2 separate regions of the Homo sapiens genome follow, and region 1 is linked to region 2. Evidence: promoter capture Hi-C in 16 types of primary human blood cells and fetal thymus (Javierre and others, 2016). All regions are on one chromosome and are shown on one strand. Each heading gives the region's core, a stretch centred on a gene start or on the middle of the fragment in contact. The rest is flanking DNA. Distances are from core to core; before and after follow the strand shown. Region 1 overlaps JPT1 (Jupiter microtubule associated homolog 1). Region 2 holds the start of CDR2L (cerebellar degeneration related protein 2 like).

Region 1 (2,933 bases), core at 348-2,847, 150 kb before region 2:
TGGTCTCAAACTCCTGACCTCAGGTTATTCAGCTGCCTTGGCCTCCCAAAGTGCTGGGATTACAGGTGTGAGCCACTGCACCTGGCCTGGACAGACATTTAAAGTAAGGCCTACTGCTGCTTGTTTAGTCTCCATAGGTGCTTTTTTATTTTTTTCTTCTTCTTTATTAGTATGTTATGTATTTGTGAAAAACAAAACAGTTCTAGTAATAATGTAAGACAAATATAAGATTAGTAGTATTGAGCTTGATTCATCTGAAGAGGATTTTATGAAAATAAACCACTATGGCAGGACTGCAAGATAATTTTTTGTTCTTCAGAATGTTCATTAACTGCTGGATTCAGAGAGAGAATGAAGACTTCAGTAGATCCTGTATGTATAGCAGGAGGCCATGTCCCACCAGCAGAAATGAAACTGCTTGAACTAACAAGTTGTCTCAGTCCGAATTCTCTTTATCTTGAATATTTTAAATGTGGAGTTTTGTTTTTCTTTTATATTTACAATTATATTTAGGTTATTTCAGGGACACTTATTGTAGGACTTGTGTGTCTGATCCAGTGCATTTGATCTTGCTTCTTTTACAATGGATGTAACCAAGGAAACTAATGGGTGACCCTCTCTGAGTTTTAGTTCATAATTGTGACAGTTGTCATTCTGAAAAGCTTCATACTCTATTTTTGCTTGTAGTTAAATAGTATAGAACATTTTATGTTACTCCCATAGAATGTTCCAGAAATTCATGAAATGTTAAAAGCAGCAGTAGTATGTTAACATTAACAAAGCATGAAAAATAAATAAATAAAATAAATGTCTGTCCAATGAGAAATACTGCAGCCACAGAAGAGGGAGGTTTGTTTGCTTCTAGCCTATCATGAGATAAGTACATGAATTGAGAGTAAGTGTTAAAGACCTCTTCTTGGCCGGGCATGGTGGCTCACGCCTGTAATCTGAGTACTTTGGGCAGCTGAGGTGGGTGGATCACTTGCGGTCAGGAGGTTGAGACAAGCCTGGCCAACATGGTGAAACCTGGTCTCTACAAAAATACAAAAAATTAGCTGGGCATGGTGGCGGGCGCCTATAACCCCAGCTATTGGGAGGCTGAGGCAGGAGAATCGCTTGAGCCTGGGAGGCGGAGGTTGTGGTGGGCCAGGATCACGCTACTTTACTCCAGTCTGGGCGATGGAATGAGACACAGTCTCAAAAAAAAAAAAAAAATCCATTAATATAGGAGCATTATTAACTGCCCTTACTGCCTTTTCAGGCAAAAGGGATTCTATGAAATATTTTTACGAATATCTTAGAATATGCAACTGAATTTGATTGGTTAACACTGAAATAAACTTGCTATTAAAAAGAAAACTAAGGCCCAGTATGGAGGCTCACGCCTGTAATCCCAGCACCTTGGGAGGCCAAGGCAGGTTGGATCACCTGAGGTCAGGAGTTTAAGACCAGCCAGGCCAACATGGTGAAACCCTGTCTCTACTAAAAATACAAAAAATTAGTCGGGCGTTGTAGCGGGCACCTATAATCCCAGCTACTTACTTGGGATGCTGAGGCAGGAGAATTGCTTGAACCCGGGAGGCACAGGTTGCAGTGAGCCGAAATTGCACTGTTGCACTCTAGCCTGGACAACATGTGTGAAACTCCATCTCAACTAAAGAAAAAAAAGGAAAACTAGGCCGGGTGCAGTGGCTTAATGCCTGTAATCCCAGCACTTTGGGAGGCCAAGGTAGGTGGCTCACTTGAGGCCAGGAGTTTGAGACCAGCCTGGCCAACATGGCGAAACCCCGTCTCTACTAAAAATACAAAAATTAATCAGGCATGGTGGTGCATGCCTGTAATTCCAGCTACTCGGGAGGCTGAGGCAGGAGAATTGCTTGAACCCAGGAGGCAGAGGTTAAAGACCCTGTCTCAAAAAAAAAAAAAAAAAAAAAAAAAAAGGAAAACTAGGCTGTGTGAAGGGTGAAGGTGGCTCATGCCTGTGATCCCAGCACTTAGGGAGGGTGAGATGGGAGGATCACTTGAGTCCAGGAATTTGAGACCAGCCTGGGTAACATAAGGAGACCCCATCTTTTAAAAATAAAAAAAAAAAAAAAACAAAAATAGCCAGTTGTGGTGGTGCGCGCCTGTAGTCCCAGCTATTTGGGAGACTGATATAGGAGGATTGCTTGAGCCCAGGAGTTTGAGGCTACAGTGGGCTGTGATTGAGGTACTGCACTCCAGCCTGGGCCACAGAGTGAGACCCTGTCTCAATATCCTCCACCTGCCACCCCACCCCTCCACAAAAAACAAACAAACAAAAAAACTAAAAATATGTATACTATTAAGCTCTTAGTAAAAGTTTCCTTTCATAGAAAATATAGAATTTTTGCATTCACTTTGCACTTTGAATCAGTTTTTTCCCGGTTTAGAAACAACCCTAATGAGAGACAATTCATTTGGAAAATTGGATGGGTTCCAGTTTTTTTGCTGTCAGAGAATTGGATAAATAGCCTATATCATGTGATAATTACTATAAAGCAATGAAGCTTGACAGTGAGGTGAGGGATTTGAAAACATACAGTTAATAAGCAAGGCGAATTACTACCCTGTTTGTAAATATGGATACATTTCCAAGAGTGAAAAAAAGAAGTTGATACCATTTATGTTAAATATAACCAAAACATGTTACATGTTATCTGGCTACATGTAAATATACATAAAACAAGTGGACTAGAAGGCTGCACAGGACTTGCAGTGGGACCTCTGGGAATAGGGGGAGCAGGATCCACCCGGAGCTGGAAGGGGCCGTAGAGCTAGAGTTCCCTGTTCTTATTTAAAAATCTTCATGTCCTTGGGCCAGGCGCGGTGGCTCACGCCTGTAATCCCAGCACTTTGGGAGGCCGAGGCAGGTGGATCACAAGGTCATGAATTCAAGACCAGCTTGGCCAGGA
Region 2 (2,806 bases), core at 125-2,624:
AGAAGGAGGCATCTTAGGGGAGGAGAGGATAGAACTGACTCCACTCCAGCAGGCCTCCTCTTCCTTTCTGTCCCAACAGCCCCACCCCCCACTCCCAGTGATGTCATTTCGGCCACCTCATCACCAGCTTCTAACCCCCTTCCAGTCGCCCTTTCTGTCCTCAGATGGCAACTGGGGGCAGCGGAGATGTATCCCTCTTTATTCGGTCTCTCGCCTGGCACACTGGCCGGGATTCCCGAACCTGACCCCCTCCAAACCATGAGCCATTTGCAAGGGGACCGGGCAGGGGAGGGCTAAGCGACTCCTGACTCTCGAAGGCAGATGGGAGACTTGACTTTCTGCTTCTTCACCAGCAAAGACGCGGTACCACTTCTCCCTGAGTAGGAAGCGAGTTAGGGAAACTTTCTAGGAGTCTTAGAGCTCATAATTCCTGTCAGGGACGGGTGCTGCTGGATTTGGCGTGAGATAACTTCCCTCTACACACAAGCCACCCTCCCAGCAAAACATGACGAAGGAGCCGCCTCCCGGCCTCAGAAGACTCCTAGCTAGCGCTCAGGCCCCGTAACAATACCAGGGGCGGCCGAGCAGTTGCTGCCTCCAGGACGGGGTGGGCGAGCTGGATGACGGATGCCCGGTCGTCTGGGAAAATAGGAAGACCGCCCCCCGCCCCCCACTTTTGCAGGTCTCCGCCCGTCCGGTCCGCGTCTTCTCCGGCAGCGCCCCCTCTCTCCACGTCCCGGTTCTCCAGACGCGTCCCTCCTCCGAGTCGGGCGCGCCCGGTCCAGCCCAGCCCCTCCCGGGGTGATAGCGCCCAACAATGGAGAAGCGGACAGGGGTCACCGGGCGCTCCCCGCCTTCCTGTCCCGGTCGCCCCCGCGCTCACCCTGCTCCAGGTCCTGCTGGTCGTACCAGGACTCCTCTTCCTCCGCGGAGAAGTCCTCCATCCCGGCGGCTCTCCGCATGGCCCCGCGGGCGGCGGGCGGGTGCTGCGGCGGCGCAGCTCAGGGCCGGTGCGCGCGGCCCGGGACAATGCGGCTGAGGCGGGCCGGGCCTCCAGCGTCGGGAACTCGGGCTACAGAGCCCGCGCCGCGCCCCCTCGCCATCAACCGCTCGCCGGGAGCCCACGCGGGGCCTGGCGCTTTGCCAGGGTCCGGCCCGGCCGGGGTCCCGCAGAGCCGGGGGCACCGGGCTGCGGCGACACAAAGGGTGGAGTGGCAGGGACGGCGGGTGGGACAGTGGCAAGGAGGATCCGGGCCCGCAGGCGGGTCTGGGGCGCTAGGAGCGCGCGGGTGCCGTGGCGGGCGCCCCCTGCCCGGCTCGGGTCCGCGCTGCTCCTGGCCCGCCCGGCGACAACCGGAGCCGCCGCTGCATCTTGGCGGAGCCCGCCTGCAGCTTGCGGAGCTCGGCTCCGCGGGGTGGGGCCTGCCGCCGCCGACCAATCAGGAGATGTATGCAAAGCTGGAGGCGGGGCCGAGGGCGGGACCCTCCTGGTGTCTTGGTCTGGGAATTGCTTGATCAACCCTTTCGTCCTACTTCCCCCTACGACCTATTCAGTTTATGTCTCATGTCTAAAATTATGCTATTTTAGAAGTTGTCGTCTCTCCTAGATCTCCTGGAAGCAAGAATATTGTTTCTCTTTCACAGCTGGCTACTCACTTCCTAGAACAGGCTGCTCACCAGTCGGGCGCGATGCCTGACTCCTGTAATTCCAGCACCTTGGGAGGCCAAGGCGGGCAGATCGCCTGAGGTCAGGGGTTTCGAGACCAGCCTGGCCAACATGGCGAAACCCCGTCTCCATTAAAAATACAAAAATTAGCTGGGCATGGTGGCGCATGCCTACTCGGGAGGCTGAGGCAGGAGAATCGCTTGAACCCTGGAGGCAGAGGTTGCAGTGAGCCAAGATAGCGCCACTGCACTCCAGCCTGGGCGACAGAGGGAGACTCTGCCTCAAAAAACAAACAAACAAAAAACAAACAACATGCTGGTCATTGATACCTTCCATCGACATTCTTTGAATGAATGAATACTAATTTACAGTTGCCTTTGGGAACTGCGTGTTTAAGTGCTTGTGGCTAGAAACCACAGGCTGAAAGTGGCAAAGTTTGAGGGTGTGTTACCTGCATTCAAGGTTCTGTTTTCCTTTCCTTGGGACCCATATCCTATATCCAATTATACCCATTAAAACTATACACACTTGCATCTGTCCAAGCATTCTTTCCTTAGAAGAGTGTTCGGACTCAAGCATTCACGTAACTCATTTTTATTGGGACCCTAATGTGCTGGTGCCGTTGAGAATCTCTGAATAATGTTGTGATATACCCAACGAATGACTTGTATCCAGAATACAGAAAGAACATCTGCATAGTCATAAGAAAAAGGCACGCAACCCAGTAGAAAAGTGGGTAAAAGATTTGACCAGGTAATTCACAAAAAAGGATACACAAATAACTGAATAAATATGCAACAAGGTACTGAACTTCTTTAGCCATCAGAAAAATGCAAATGAAAACCACAATGAGGTATCACTACCCAATCACCAGAGTGGCTTTAGGGAAAAAAAAAAAAAAAAAAAAGGCCAGGCGTGGTGGTTCATGCCTATAATCCCAGAACTCTGGGGAGGCCGAGGTTGGGAGGATCACTTGAGCCTGGAGTTCAAGAGCAGCCTGGGCAACATAGCAAGATCCTATTTCTATAAAAAAATTTAAAAATAAAAATTAGGTGGGCATAATGACACACGGCTGTAGTCCCAGATACTTTGGGAGGCTGAGGTGGGAGAATTGCTTGAGTCTAGGAGGTTGAGGCTGTA

Evidence for each region. The method cuts DNA at HindIII sites, captures the fragments that hold promoters and counts their contacts. A CHiCAGO score of 5 or more calls a contact.
Region 1: a fragment that was not itself captured here is called in contact with the fragment with the promoter of CDR2L in region 2 in 3 of 17 cell types (naive CD8 T cells, naive CD4 T cells and total CD8 T cells); the score reaches 6.4 in naive CD8 T cells.

The regions. Positions count from the first base shown.
Region 1 is chr17:75,136,693-75,139,625 of GRCh38, reverse strand. The region is part of intron 4 of JPT1 (Jupiter microtubule associated homolog 1); the gene reads left to right. It overlaps LOC107985034 (a long non-coding RNA gene), which reads right to left. Exons shown (of 2, transcript XR_007065907.1): 1 at 1-2,933. Among named protein-coding and RNA genes, the nearest start is that of NT5C, 6.4 kb to the right of the region's middle. The HindIII fragment of the contact is 1,866 bases long and covers 665-2,530 here.
Region 2 is chr17:74,986,200-74,989,005 of GRCh38, reverse strand. It overlaps CDR2L (cerebellar degeneration related protein 2 like), which reads right to left and starts at 1,374. Exons shown (of 5, transcript NM_014603.3): 1 at 884-1,374. The coding sequence starts at 962. RefSeq lists silencers at 1,279-1,368, 1,389-1,468 and an enhancer at 1,035-1,536. The HindIII fragment of the contact is 10,272 bases long and covers 1-2,806 here.